Linked DNA regions of Homo sapiens: all the other regions are linked to region 1. The links are contacts of gene promoters, found by promoter capture Hi-C in blood cells and fetal thymus (Javierre and others, 2016). All regions are on one chromosome and are shown on one strand. Each heading gives the region's core, a stretch centred on a gene start or on the middle of the fragment in contact. The rest is flanking DNA. Distances are from core to core; before and after follow the strand shown.

Evidence for each region. Contacts are between HindIII fragments. The CHiCAGO score rates a contact against its expected background, and 5 or more counts as called.
Region 2: a contact is called between a fragment that was not itself captured here and the fragment with the promoter of DMKN in region 1, in 3 of 17 cell types (monocytes, neutrophils and naive B cells). The highest score is 7.5, in monocytes.
Region 3: a fragment that was not itself captured here is called in contact with the fragment with the promoter of DMKN in region 1 in 4 of 17 cell types (monocytes, total B cells, activated CD4 T cells and 1 more); the score reaches 6.0 in monocytes.
Region 4: a fragment that was not itself captured here is called in contact with the fragment with the promoter of DMKN in region 1 in 7 of 17 cell types (monocytes, naive B cells, total B cells and 4 more); the score reaches 11.6 in monocytes.
Region 5: a contact is called between the fragment with the promoter of ARHGAP33 here and the fragment with the promoter of DMKN in region 1, in 2 of 17 cell types (neutrophils and erythroblasts). The highest score is 5.1, in neutrophils.

Annotation. Positions count from the first base shown.
Region 1 is chr19:35,512,180-35,515,039 of GRCh38, forward strand. DMKN (dermokine) reads right to left here and starts at 1,470. Exons shown (of 16, transcript NM_033317.5): 1 at 871-1,470; 2 at 411-611; 3 at 242-298. The coding sequence starts at 1,296. The HindIII fragment of the contact is 13,607 bases long and covers 1-2,860 here.
Region 2 is chr19:35,203,509-35,206,368 of GRCh38, forward strand. It overlaps LOC105372379 (a long non-coding RNA gene), which reads left to right and starts at 1,613. Exons shown (of 3, transcript XR_935938.2): 1 at 1,613-1,768; 2 at 2,645-2,860. RefSeq lists enhancers at 1-91, 92-609, 610-1,127, 2,103-2,272. The HindIII fragment of the contact is 3,198 bases long and covers 1-2,860 here.
Region 3 is chr19:35,221,036-35,223,895 of GRCh38, forward strand. No RefSeq gene overlaps it. Among named protein-coding and RNA genes, the nearest start is that of FAM187B, 6.3 kb to the right of the region's middle. The HindIII fragment of the contact is 2,741 bases long and covers 4-2,744 here.
Region 4 is chr19:35,241,507-35,244,366 of GRCh38, forward strand. No RefSeq gene overlaps it. Among named protein-coding and RNA genes, the nearest start is that of LSR, 6.1 kb to the right of the region's middle. The HindIII fragment of the contact is 3,634 bases long and covers 1-2,860 here.
Region 5 is chr19:35,774,209-35,777,068 of GRCh38, forward strand. ARHGAP33 (Rho GTPase activating protein 33) reads left to right here and starts at 1,356. Exons shown (of 21, transcript NM_001366178.1): 1 at 1,356-1,456. The coding sequence starts at 1,451. RefSeq lists an enhancer at 848-907 and a silencer at 1,138-1,617. The HindIII fragment of the contact is 37,765 bases long and covers 1-2,860 here.

The DNA of each region.
Region 1 (2,860 bases), core at 220-2,719:
TGAAGACAGGGTTTCACCATGTTGACCAGGCTGGTCTTGAACTCCTGACCTCAGGTGATCCACGTGCCTTGGCCTCCCAAAGTGCTGGGATTACAGGTGTGAGCCACCTCGCCCAGCCCCATCTCTTCCTCTCACCCCAATCCCTCCACTCCCCCATCTTGCTTTCCTCTTTGTCTTTCCCCAGCTCTCTGTAGCCTGCACCCAGTGGCTTCTTCATTTGTTCCCAGCCCCTTCCTCTTACCCCTTCATTCTGGTTGCTGGCTCTCACTGAACCATAGCCAGGCTGGGCCACAGCTCCCTGCAGAGAGGGTGAGACTGAGAGTAGGATCCAGAGGGACCAGGGAGGCACGCGGAGCATGTGGGCTTGGAGGGAGGGAGGTGGCAGGTAGCAGGTCTGGGGGTGACTTTACCTGAGTGTTGGTCCCAAAGTTTGGTGGCCCTCCATTGCCTCCTTGACCCCAGGGAGCTCCCTGAGGATTCATTCCAAAGCTGCCTGCTGAGTTTCCGGGGTATCCGTGGACCCACGGAGTCCCCAGACCTCCAGGATTGCCCTGGCCCTGGCCTCCAAGGCCACCTTGAGAGCCAAAGATGCCATGGCCTCCAGAAGTTTCCTGCAAGAACAACATACCTGCACTTAGTGGGACCATCTCTGACCCTGGTAGAGAAGAGCCAGGGCAAATCATAAAGAGACCAGGAGAGAGACAGGCAGAGGGACTCCAGGGTGGCATAGGAGGGGGGCAGAACATAGAAGGAAGCTGCCCCAGAAGCCTGCAAGTAAGAGATCCATCCATCCTTTCAACCGTTTCCCAAGAATCTCAGCCCAGCAGCCCACAGCCTCCCATTTCCACATGCAGCCCCACAGCCACTCACCCAAGCACCATTGTGGCCAGGCACCCCCTGCCAGGAGCCGCGGACAGCATCTGCTCCGTGTCGAATGACATCTTCTGCCTGTCTGCCAATCTCGTGCCCAGTGTTTCCCAGAGCATGGGCTGCTTCCCCGACCCTGTTGCCCAAAGCATCTGCTACGCCAAAGCCTGGAACCTGCCTGACTCCAGTGCCAACTGCTTCTCTGGTCCCTTGGCCAAGGGCCTCACTGACTTTAGAGCCAGCTGCCCCTCCGGCCTCTTTGCCAATGGCCTTTCCCACCCCTTCGCTCAGGGCGTCTCCCAGGCCATGTCCAAGGGCCTCCCCAATATTTGTCCCAGTGCTTTCCTCTCCGCTCTGCAGGGGGCCAGCCTCCCCACTGCCCAGGCAGAGGGCCAGCAGGAGGCAGGCCAGGGGCCCCTGGAACTTCATCTCTGCCCAGCCCCCTCTCTCTCCAGAGTGTCTTCCTCCCACCAGGGTCTCCTCCTTGCCGCCCTTGCTCTGCGTCTCTGTGCCCTCCTCTGTCCTCCTCCTTCCGACTCCCTGTCCTCCCTCCCTCTGGGTCTGCAGCCTTCTCTCTCCTGTCCTCAACTGCCTGGGCTTCTCAGAGTCCACCTCCCTGTCACTACTCCTTATACTCTAGGTTGGGAGAAGGTGACAGGGCTGGGCAACCTGAGGTCCCTCCCCGCAGTGACTCAGGGCCCAGCCACCAATAGGGTAATCAGCTGTTATTGTGAGTCTGAGAGTCTCTGTCGAAACAGAGAGTGAGCCGCATCAGGGAGGGAGGGAGAAATGGATGAGGTGATGCAAAAGTGCTCCCATTTCCCAACCCCAGGCATTCGGGGAGCTGGGTGGGGGCAGGGGCATCTAAGGAGACAGGTTGTCGTTGGCTCCTGGAGGCGGTGGGGTGGGGGCAGACTTAGAAGAGAGGAGTTACTGGCAGGACCCCACCAAAGGAGTAAGGACAGGGAAGCCCCAGGGGACAGGACCCACCCAGGCTCAGCCAGCCTGGCTCAGGGGCTCCAGAGTGACAGGCATTGCCCGTCCTCGGCCTGGCCTTTCTCGGTTTCAGCACCTCAGCCTCTCCTCTCCCTCTCCCCTCCCGCATTGCCACCTACAGGTGACTGCCTTCTTGTTCCTCCACACCTTCCAGCCCACAGAGAGAGACTGGCAAACACGGGGCTGCGTGTCAGTTTCTGAGATTCTGGGGAGAGCCCCCGGGGGGACCCTCGGTGTCGGGGAAGGAGGTGGCCATAGCCCTTTGAGTGGTCAGCAGGGTGTCTCAGCGTTCAGGCTGCTCCCGGCTGAGAAAGCTGGGCGCGGAGCAGGGCAGCCAGGCGCGCCAGCCACCCCCAGGGAACGAGTGGGAGGGAAGGCCAAGGGAGGGAGCCGCTGACCCAGGCACCCATCCTGTTTACGCAGCCCTAGAGGGGCACGTGTGAGTATAAGCGCCTATGAGGGGCGGGACTGGGCCAGCTCACCCCACCCATCCCCCAGGCCAGGGGCCAGGGCAGCAATGGCAAGCGAGAAGAGGGTAGCGCAAGGTCAGGAGCCATCCGTGAGAGCCACGGCCCTCTCCCCAGTCCCAGCTCGGGATACAGAACCTGGGAGCCTCCCCCCGCCTCACCCCTGCCCAGCAAGTGTGGCTGCTTCTCTATTCCCAGGGGCCACAGGGCCTCCCACTGTTTCGTATCACTGGGGTTCATCGCCCAGTTAGGAGGGGCCAGTTTCCATCAGCCTTTCTCAATGTCTCTCAGTCAGTCTCTCTCTTCTCTCCACCCCAATATCCGCACCCCAGCTTATAACATCCAACACTTCTTACCTTGTAAACACTATCCCCATCTGTCCTCCTCAGCTCCTACTTCCCTGTTATTCCATCTCTGACTCGTTAATGATGATAATAGCGATGGTGGTAATAATAATAATAATAATAATAATAATTACAGCTCCAGCTTATCAGCGGTTCTGTATGTACCCAGCATTGGACTAAGCACAA
Region 2 (2,860 bases), core at 223-2,722, 310 kb before region 1:
CCAGGGTCAGCTTGGAATTTGGGATCTGATTGCCATAAAGAGTCTACTCTGTCAGTCCTGTGATCTGTATTTTAATGTTAATGTTGGTCAGTTGGGCCTAAACTCCAGAAGGGAGGGGCTAGAATGAGGCATGTGCACCTCCCATTTCTTCATGGCTAGAATTCAGTTGTTCAGATGTCTCTGGGGTCCCTTTGGCCCAGAAGGGGGTCCACTTAGTTAGTTGGGGGGCTCAGGATTTTATTTTTGGTTCAAAGTATATATTCTAGGTTGTGATGTCAAATGACTCTCTTACAGTTAACAACAAAAGTGTGAAAGCTACTGTGGTTGATAGCAATATCCTTTGGTTTAGTAGCTTTGTTTTATTTTCCATGTTATTACTTGGAAATTCTTTTCCCCTGGACCCTCCTAAGTCTCTGTCTCCTATCCCCCAGAGACCTAAAGGGTGAAGACACTGAGCTTCCAGATTTGAGGGCAGGAGAGTCCTAGTGAGGCCTGGCTTGGAGGCCAGGGAACTTCCTATTCCAGTCTGCAATGTTACCCTTCAATCTCCAGCTCCCCTGGCTGTTGGTGCCCACCCCAGAGTTGTGGAAGCCCTTTCAGTCTAGCTGCCCCACTTGGTGACAGCATGGGCAGGGCAGGACAGGGAGCATCATGGGGTTCATGCTTTCTGCCGTCCAGCCTCCCTACATGCAGGGCGATGGCCCCTAGCTGACCCTTGAGAGCTGAGGGGAGGCTAGGAAGAGGGTTAAAGGCGAAGCCAGACCCAGGCCATTACTGAAGTCACATGGCCTGCCAGGAAACCCCTGTCTATATTGTAGCTGGTTGAACTAATTATATTATAAATACTTTTCCATTTTCTGCCTAGAACCATGCTCTAGACATCTGCATGAGGTCATTAAACCTGCACCACAGCCATGCACACACACGTGTGTGTGTGTGTGTGTGTGTAAAAGACAGACATGAGGTATAGAAGAGCAATATAGAGGTCTCCATATTATGGGGGAACAGACAGTCCCAGAGCAGGGAGGTCACTTGAACAGGGTCACAGAGGCAGGAGGCCACGAACCTGGCTGGACACTGCAGGGCCAAGCAGGTAAACACTGTGCCTGACTCGCACCCAGACTTCGCAACAACCCTAGAATATTCATAAGTCAGTAATAATAGTGTTACAGGAAAGGAGTCCCGATCCAGACCCCAAGAGAGGGTTCTTGGATTCCCACAAGAGAGAATTCAGGGCAGGTCCATAAAGTGAAAGCAAGTTTATTAGGAAAATAAAGGAATAAAGAATGGCTACTCCATAGACAGAGCAGCCCCGAGGACTGCTGGTTGCCCATTTTTATGGTTATTTCTTGATGATATGCTACACAAGGGGTGGATTATTCATTTCTCCCCTTTTTAGACCATAGAGGGTAACTTCCCGACATCGCCATGGTATTTGTAAACTGTCATGGCGCTGGTGGGAGTGTAGCAGTGAGGACGACCAGAGGTCACTCTCGTGGCCATCTTGGTTTTGATGGGTATTATCTGGCTTCTTTATTGCATCCTGTTTTATCAGCAAGGTCTTTATGACCTGCATCTTGTGTTGACCTCCTATCTCACCCTGTGACTCAGAATGCCTTAACCATCTGGGGATGCAGCCCAGTAAGTCTCAGCCTCATTTTACCTGGCCCCTACTCAAGATGGGGTTGCTCTGGTTCAAACGCCTCTGACAGGGTGACAACTGTGACCACAACAGATTCACAAACATGACATTTTCAGAGAGAGGAAGGTATGCAGGGTGGTGTGATTTGGAAGAGGCTGTGGGCGTAGAGGGATGGGTAATTCAGTTGGGGTGGTCAGGGAGGGCTGCTTGGTGGAGGGGACTCTTGGCTGAGACCTGAGGGCTGTGAAGTTCTTAGAGAAGGGTGTTCCAGGCAGAGGGAACAGCAAGCACAAAGGCCTGAGACGAGAGCTAGCTTGGTATGCAAGAGGAACAGAAAAGAGGAAGTGAGAGTAAGGCGGGGGAGGGAAGGGGCAGGGAATGGAGGCTGTGGAGAGGGGAGGGTTTCCAGGCAGCCCAGGACCCTCAAGGAGAGAAACGTTGGATGTAGTCTCCCAGGTAGGGTCCATCTGGCCCTTCCTCCTGGCTCCTGCGGAGTCCGAGTGGCTCTTTCCCTCCTTCCCTCCTCTCCCCTCCTCCTTCTCTCCCTCTCCATTTTCCCTGCAAGGTCTGCAGCCCAACTCCAGCTCTCCCATTACTACAGGGGCTGGTGGGTCCTTCTGAGCAAGAAGATGGGGCTCTTTGTCTACAGTGTCTGTCTATAGTCATTCACCCACTCATTCATTTAATCATTCACTCATTCATTCATTCATTTAGCCACTCATTTGTCAAATATTGATTTTTCTCAGGTGTTTTGCCCTCACAGGTCCTGCCGCCTAAAACACTGACTTCTTATCTCTCAAGGCTTTGCTTTCAACACTGTCTCTTCCAAGACCTCTCCCTGACCACTCCCAACTTACTAAACCCCTATCACCCTGTTAGCTTTTGAATGCTCTTCATGGTAAAACAGGACAGGTTGATGCTCTCCGGGGCTCTCTCTACACACAAGAGAGAGATTAGCCTGACGGGCATTCGTTTACCCTTCTCATTTTCTTTGGGAACCAGCCTCCCCTGCTCTTAGTCTATGTGATTCGGACACAGCCAACTACATTTCCCAGATCCAGAAATGAACACGCCATTCCAAGTAAAGCCAATGAGAGACAGCTGCAGGACTTTTGCTGGAACTATTGGGAAAGTGGTGTTTCTTTTTCTGCTATGGTTACTTATCTGCTATGCTCTAAGCCTGGAACTGCTGGAGGTCATCTTTGCTGCATGAAAATG
Region 3 (2,860 bases), core at 124-2,623, 290 kb before region 1:
TAAAGCTTTTATTTTCTCAAAAACCTCATGCCATAGTATTGGCTTGTTGTGCATCTGGCAGCAAACCCCTTTTGCTTGATACTAATGTAAGCAGGAAACAAACCTCTGTGTTTTATTCTGGAGCGTATTTATTGCTGCAGTGGAGCCTATCCTATACTGACTAATACAGAGTAACAAATGAGACTCCTTCAATAGCAGTAGGATTTGCCAAGACAATTTTTTTTTTTGAAATGGAGACTTGCTCTGTTGCCCAGGCTGGAATGCAGTGGTGCAATCTCGGCTCACTGCAACCTCCACCTCCTGGGTTCAAGTGATTCTCCTGCCTCAGCCTCCCCAGTAGCAGGGATTACAGGCACATGCCACCACACCTGGCCAACTCTTGTATTTTTAGTAGAGGCAGGGTTTCACCATGCTGGCCAGGCTGGTCTCGAACTCCTGACCTTGTGATCTGCCTGCCTCAGCCTCTCAAAGTGCTGGAATTACAGATGTGAGCCACTGTGCCTGGCCTGCCAAGACAATTTTATGATGCAGAAAGTATCTGTATTCGGGGTTGTCATGTGGAGTTGTACAAGTTGAGCACTGCCCGACATGTCCAGCCAAGGGATGAGGGGAACCCACTCCATGCTCCACTCACCAGGCCTTTATACAATTTGTTCTAAGGTGACAATTTGTTCTAAGGTGATATAGACAATTTGTTCTAAGGTGACAGCTTTAGAAAGAAAGGGAATATTTTCTCCTTTTCTTTCTCTGGCAGAGTAGAAGAGCCGTATAGCAAGGCTAAGTACTGGAATTGCATTTATAAGCAATTATTTTTTTCCCCAAAAACATAGGCCTAAGAAGTTAAAAAATTACAATAAGAAAAGGAAGAGGGAAGAATAGGATGGTTAAAAATGGAATCTGGGGCGTGTTTTGTCTTACGCTGTACTCTGTTGTGCAGGGGAGGGTGGCAAGGCTGGGCCTGACCATGTCTCCTGCTTGGTGAGGAAAGTTTCTTATTGTACAGCTGGCCACACGCAAAGCGGCTGCTACTCCCTGCTGCAACCTGGGGGGCAACCCACCCTTACCTGTAAGGAACCCCACCTTGTCAGAATCACTTTTTTTTTTTTTTTTGAGATGAAGTCTATCTTTGTTGGCCAGGCTGGAGTACAGTGGCGCAATCTCGGCTCACTGCAACCTCTGCCTCCTGGGTTCAAACAATTCTCATGTCTCAGCCTCCCAAGTGCTGGAATTACAGCTCCGCCACCACGCCTGGCTAATTTTTGTATTTTTCGTATAGATGGGTTTTCACAGTGTTGGCAAGGCTGGTCTCGAACTCCTGACCTCAGGAGAATCGCCATTTTAAGTGGACATCAGGTCATGTCTCTCCACTGCTCAAAACCCTCACGTGGCTCCCATTTCATTTCAAATAAAGCCCACAGCTGCTATCCTGGCCTACAGAGTCCCACACACTCTCGGCCCTGGTGACCTCCTTGATGTTCTCTCCACAGTTGCCTTCCTGTCCTAATCAGCTCCGTCCACCAAGTAGACACCCAGCCCCAGAGCCCTTATATACGCTGCCTGTGCCTGCAACTGCTTGGGGTAGGCTGAATAACACCTCCCAAAGATGTCACTCTAATCCCCAGCACCTGTGAATGTTACCCCTGGGGACCTGCAAGAGGATGTGTAGAGTGTGCCTTACAGGGGTGAGGAAGCTGGGTGCTCCCGTTCCCATCCCTCGAGGTTAAGGACTGCTCCTGGGGTGTCAACTGCCCAGCTTCTAGCCTGCTCCATGAGTGGCCCAGCAGGCTTCTGGTATGAGTTAGGAAACCCCTGGCACCCACTGGAATCATGCCCATGACTGCTAAAGCTGCAGGGGACTTCCAGGTCTTTTCAGGGATATGGGTGAGTGTATTTGTTGTCTGTTGCTGCAAAGCAGATTGCCAGAAATTCAGTGGCTTAAAACAACACACGTCTATGATCTCACAGTTTCTGTGGATCAGGAGTCCAGGCACAGCTTAGCTGAGCCCTCCATCTGAGGTCTCAGAAGGCTGCTGTCAGACACGGATCAGGCTGCACTTTCATCTGGAGGCTCGACTGGGGATGAATCTACTTCTGAGTTCATCCAGGTTATTGGCAGAGTTCGTTTCTCTCTGGCTGTGTGACTGAGGGTCCTGGCCTTTTGCTTGCTGTCAACTGGGAGCCTCCCTCAGGTCCTAGAGGCCACTTGCATCTCCTGGAGGCCACCCACAGCTCCCTACCACGTGGACTTCCTCAATGTGGCTGCTTACTTCATCAAGCCAGCAAGGCTCCCTCCCTCTGATCTTCTAAGACAGAGTCTTAGATAACATAAGGCAAGCTAGGGAGTGACAGCTCAACACCTTTACTGTGTGCTATTGGTTAGATGCAAGGTCACAGGTCTGTCCACACTGGAGGAGAGGGGATCATACAAGGCATGGACACCAGGAGGTGGGAAGTCACTGGGGTCACCTTAGGAGCTGCCCTGACAGCCTTGGAGCACTGGGGCACTGACAGCCTCTGCTATGGGTTGTGAGACTTCAGTGCTGCGAAGAACAAACCCCTTGAGTGTGGGACCCGTGCTTGACTCTCTCTGTCCCACCTCCAGCTCCCATACAATGGGGGCTTCTATGGGTTGCAGGCATTGGGGGGCTCCCTGGGACCTGGGGTGGGCGCTTCAGGTCTCCTTTCACCTTCCAACCACTGGCCCCTTCCCAAGCTCACTGTGTGACCTCAGGCAAGTTGCTTGAAGCTTCTGAGTCTTGATGTTCTCAGCTGCAAAACAAGGTTAACAGTAGCACCAGCCTCTTGGGTGATCGTGGGGACATAGCACTTACAAAGGGTTTGAGTTTTGACCTCACCAGGA
Region 4 (2,860 bases), core at 188-2,687, 270 kb before region 1:
TTCTGGAGCTAAAAATACAATTAACTGAAATAAAAAATTCACTGAAGGGGCTCAAAAACAGATTTGAGCAGGCAGAAGAAAAATCAGCAAACTTGGTGACAGGAAAATTTATTGAGTCTGAGGGACAGGAAGAAAAAAGATTAAAGAAAGCTGAACAGAGCCTAAAGGATCTGTGGGACACCACAGAGGAGACCAACATACATATTATGGGAGGTCCAGAAGGAGAAGAGAGAGAAAAAGAGGAAGAAAGAATTGTAATTTTAAGAAATAAGATTGAAAACTTCCCAAATTTGATGATAGACATGAATCAACAAATCTAAAAACTCAATAAACTCCAAGTATGAAAAACCCAGAGATTCAAGCTGAGACACATTATAATCAAACTGTAAAAAGCCAAAGCCAAAGAAACAATCTTGAAAGCAGCAAGAGAGAAGCAACTTGTTACATTCAAGAAATCCTCAATAAGATTATTGGCAGATTTATCATTAGAAACCTTGGATGCCAAAGGCAGTGGGTTAATACACTTGACATGCCAAAAGAAGAAGAAGAAAAAAAAGACCTATCAACCAAGAATTCTATAGCTACCCAATCTATCCTCCAACAATGAGGAAGAAGTTCAGATATTCCTGGATAAACAAAAGCTGAGGGAGTTCATTACCACTAGTCCTTCCCTACTAGAAATGCTAAACGAAGTCCTTCAGGTTGAAATGAAAGAGTGCAGACAGTAATTTGAAGACATGAAGAAAAAAATTAAAATCTCTGCTAAAGGTAAATACATGAGCAATTATAAAAGCTACTGTTATCATAATTTGAGTTTATAATTTCACTTTTTATTGTCTACATGATATAAAATAAAATGGATGAAAACAATTATTAATCTTCATTATTGGGAAAACAATGTATATAGGTGTGATTTGTGACACTGACAACAGAAAAGGAATGACAGAGGCCAGGTATGGTGGCTCATGCCTGTAATCCCAGCACTTTGGGAGGCAGAGGCAGGTGGATCACTTGAGGTACCTGAGGTCAGGAGTTCAAGAGCAGCCTGGCCAACATGGCGAAATCTCATCTCTACTAAAAATAGAAAAATAAAATTAGCCGAGCATGGTGGCAGACACCTGTAATCCCAGCTACTGGGGCGGCAGAGGCAGCAGAATTGCTTGAACCCAGGTGGCAGAGGCTGCAGTGAGCCAAGATTGCACCATTGCACTCCAGCCTGGGTGACAGAGCAAGGCTCCATCTCAAAAAAAAAAAAAAAGAAAGAAAAAGGAAAAGGAGTGACAGAGCTATATAAGAGCAGAGTTTATATATATACTATCGAAATTAAGCTGGTATAAATGTAAATTGGAGTATTATAATTTTAGGTTTTATATATAATATAATCTCCTCTATAACCACAAAATAAAAAGCTACAAAATATACACAACTGGAAATGAAAAGAGAATCAAAACATTTCGCTACAAAAAAAAAATTAAACATAAACAGTAATGGAGAAAATGAGGGACAAAAAGCCATAAGGTATATAGAAAACAAGTAGCAAAATGGCAGTAATTTTGCTGATAGTCATTTCTTTAAATCAAGATGGAGATTTCCAGAATGTATTTTTAAAAACCACCCAACAATACGCTGTCTATAAAGGATTCATGTTAGATCCAAAGGCACGAATATGTTCAAAGCAAAAGATATGGAAAATGATATTCCATGCAAACAGTAACCAAAAGATAGCTTGAGTGGCTATGCGAATATCAGACAAAATAGACTTTAAATCAAAACAATTTACAAGAGACAAGACAGACATTACAAATTAATAAAAAGTTAAATATCTCAATAAGATGTAACAGTTATAAACATTTCTGCACCTAATAACAGACCTCAAAATATAAAGCAAAAATTGATAGACTCAAAGGAGAAATACACAGTTCTACCATAATAGTTGGAGAGTTCAAAATCCCACTTTCAATAATGGATAGAACACACAGACAGAAAGTAAGTAAAAATATAGTGGACTTGAACAACACAAAAACCAACTAGACCTAACAGATACATATGGAACACTCACCCAATTAAAAAAAAAATCCAAGTACACATGAGACATTCTCTATGATAGATGACATGTTGAGGCATAAGTTAAATCTCAGTAGATTTTAAAATACCTATCAAACGAACTCTTTTCTTTGATCACAACAAGATAAAGTTAGAAATCAATAATAGAAGGAAAAATGAAAATTCACAAATATGTGAAAATTAAACAACATTCTCTTAAACAACCAACAGGTCAAAGAAGAAATCACAAAGGAAATCAGAAAATACTTAGGGACAAGTAGGAAAGAAAACAAAATATACCAAACTTATGAGATGCCCCAAAAACAGTGCTCAGAGGGAAATTAATAGCTATTAATGCCCATGTAAAAAGAATAACTATCTCAAATTAATAACCTGACTTACATCTTATGGAACTAGAAAAAGTAGAGCAAACAAAACCCAAAGCCAGCAGAAGAAAGGAAATAATAGAGACTAGAGCAGAAACTCATAAAATAGAGAAAGAGAATAGACAAAAAAATCTGTAAAACCAAAAGTTGGTTTTTTGAAAAGATTAACAAAATTGGCAAACCTTTGGTGAGACTGATGAAGCACCAAAGAGAGAAGACGCAAATAACTAAAATCAGAAATGAAAGTGGCAATACCACTAATTTTAAACCACCTAGCAAAGAAAAATCTTAAACCAGATGGCTTCATGAGTTAGTTCAACCAAACATTTAAAGAAGAATTCACACAAATAATTTTCAAACTTCCAAAAAATTGAAGAGAAGGAAACACTTTCTAACTCATTCTGTGCAGCCAGTATTACCATAATACCAAA
Region 5 (2,860 bases), core at 106-2,605, 260 kb after region 1:
CCTCAAGTGATCTGCCCGCCTCGGCCTCCCAAAGTGTTGGGATTACAGGCGTGAGCCACCACGCCTGGCCTAATATTCTATATTTTGTTTAATGTTAATTTTGTTCATTGTCTTCTCCCAGTAGCTTTTGAGCTCCAATGTGGGCAGGGTATATTTTCTCCTGGTTTGGTTGTTGATGTATGTACAAATTGATTAGAGTTTGAGTGAATGAATGAATGAATGAATGAATGAACAGACCAAGACCCTCTGAGATGAGAATTTGTTGAGGGCATGACTAAGGAGAGACCCTCCTGTGAAGGGCGTTATTACAGTGTTATCTGGGCATGCTCAGTATTAGCAGGCTCCATTGGGAATGGCTTTATGGGGGGCATAAGCATGATCTGGCATTTCCCCCTAAGCATTTTCCTAGAAAAAAAAAATCAAGGCTGGAGATTGGCCCGTAATAAGCAGTAGAAGGGGAAACAAGAAAATGTCCAGTGGGCAGGGGAGGCCAAATCGCAGAAAGCCTCGGGTTACGTCCTAGGCAAGGTATATGAGGCAACGAGAAACGTCCATGGGCGGAGCGTCCTCGGCATTATGTGAGCGGGGTCGGGATCAGGACTGAAAAGGTGAGACTTGGGACTGGGACTTTGAAAAGCTGCTTAAGGAACTGGGCACTGCTCTGAGGCCGTGGGAGAATCCAATTAAGACTATCAGGGGCTGGCTGGCGTGGTGGCTCACGCCTGTCATCCCAGCGCTTTGAAAGGAGGCTGAGGAGGGAGTATCTCTTGAGCCCCAGAGATCAAGACCATCCTGGGTAACATAGTGAGACCCCCATGTCTAAAAAAAATTAGCCAGGCGTGGTAGCGCACGCCTGTAGTCCCAGCTACATGGGAGGTATCGCTTGAGCCCAGGAGGTTGAGGCTGCAGTAAGCCACGATTGCAGGACTGCGCTCCAGCCTGGGCGACAGAGTGAGACCCTGTCTCTTAAAGAAATAAAAATAAAAAAGTCAGAAGAATGGACACTGGGAGTGGACGAAAGGTAGGGTCCATTGCTTGGTGTTGGAAGTGTCGGAAGCAAAGCATAAAGAACCTGGGGGCTTGTCTCAGGAGGGCGATGACAGCCAATGAAAAGCAGTCATGGGCGTGGCGCTGTCAAACTTCGAGGGGCGGGACCGAGGACACAGAGCCGGGGCGGAGCCCAAGGTGAAACCAATGAGAAGCCTCCGGGTGGGCGGGGCATCGGCCTAAGGCCAAGGGCGGAGCCAATGAGAAGCAGCGCCGCGTTCCCGCTGCCCCCCGCCCCCGTGGGGCGCGCGCCGGAGCCACGGGCAGCCGTTAGGGGCGGGGTCTGCAGCCGCCCGCGCGCGGCTCGCGCCCTCCCCTTTGTGTCGCCATGGCGGCGGCAGCGGCGACGAGAACGGCGAGCGAGGGGTCGAGCGCGGCCGGGGCCTGAGGAGGCTACGCGACCATGGTGGTAAGGGTCCCACGCGGCCGTCAGCCTGTCCGTCCGGATGTCAGTCTGTCCGTGCGCAGCCCCGCCCCGCGCGCCCCGCCCCCGGCCCCGCCCGATCCCGCGGCCTGTGCTTCAGCCGTGGTCCCTCCCGTCCTGCGGCCCCATCCCGGGTCCCAGCCCGTACCTCGACCCCGCCCCCTAAGCGCGCATCCCCGTCTTCCACGCCCTGGATGGGGTGACAGGGACCTAGGGCCTGGGCTGGGAGGAGGCGGGGCTAGTCCAGGAAGGGACCCGCGCCACCCAAGTGGCCCCTGCAGGGGCCTCCTGAGGCTCCTGGGTCCTTCCCCAGCTCCCATCCCAGCACCTTCCTCGGCATCCTTCTGCCAGCCCTCAGCCCTCCCCGGCGGAGCCCCCTCCTCCTCCCCACAGCCCCTTTCTCATTCCCGAGCCCCACCCCCCACCCGCTCCATCCCCAGCCTGACCCTTTTCTTCTCCTTCTCCCTCATTTTCACCCTATCCCAGTTCCTCTCAATCCCCCCCGCCCCGCATCAGTCTGAGCCTTTGCCTCGTCTCTCCAGCCACTCCTTCCTTACTCCACCCCAACAGGCCAGCACTGTACCTCCCTTGATCCTCGGGTCTGCTCCATCTCCTTGTCCTCATCCCCCTCCCCCACCATTTCCCTCTCCCACCATGCTGCTCCCGCTCATTCATCCATTCATTCCCTCACTTAGCAGACATTCACTGAGACCGCCTCTGTGCAGGCCCCACGCTCCAGGCACAGAGAGAGTCAGCTCCCATCCTGCCTTGGGGAACCTTATGGGCTGGAGGGGGACAGACCCTGAGGGTGAGACCCTGAGGGTGACTGGGGGTTGCAGGGACATGGAGCAGGGAGACGCTACAGCCCAGTGAATCTGTCTGGCAGCTGGTTAATTTATTCATCAGATTTTACCCAGTCCCTGCTGCGCGCGACTGGGCTGGCACTGGGGACCCAGAAAAGAATCAGGAACAATCATGTCTGAACACCAACTCAATGCCCAGCTCTATGCTGGGGAGCTCAGTCTGGGGCCCTCCTTCTGGGAGGCCGGTCATAGTCCAATGAGAGAGATGAACTTGTCACCACCAGTGCCATCTCAGAGTGATCAGAGCTGTGAAGGGAGAAGCTCTGGTCAAGGCATGGAACCTGGGATGGGGGAACCTCAGGGGATGGAGAGAGTCCAGAGGAGATGCCAGGTGCAGCCTGAAGGGTCAGGGAGAACTTCCTGGAGGAGGGCACATGTGAGTTGGGACCTGAGGGGTGGGAGTGAGGATGAATGTACCCAGGGAAAGGTGGGGCGAGTGTTCCAGGCTGAGGGAACAGCCTTTGCAAAGGCCTAGAAGGAAATGAGAAGAGGGTGCTTTTTTTGGACTCTTAGAAGTTCAAGAGCT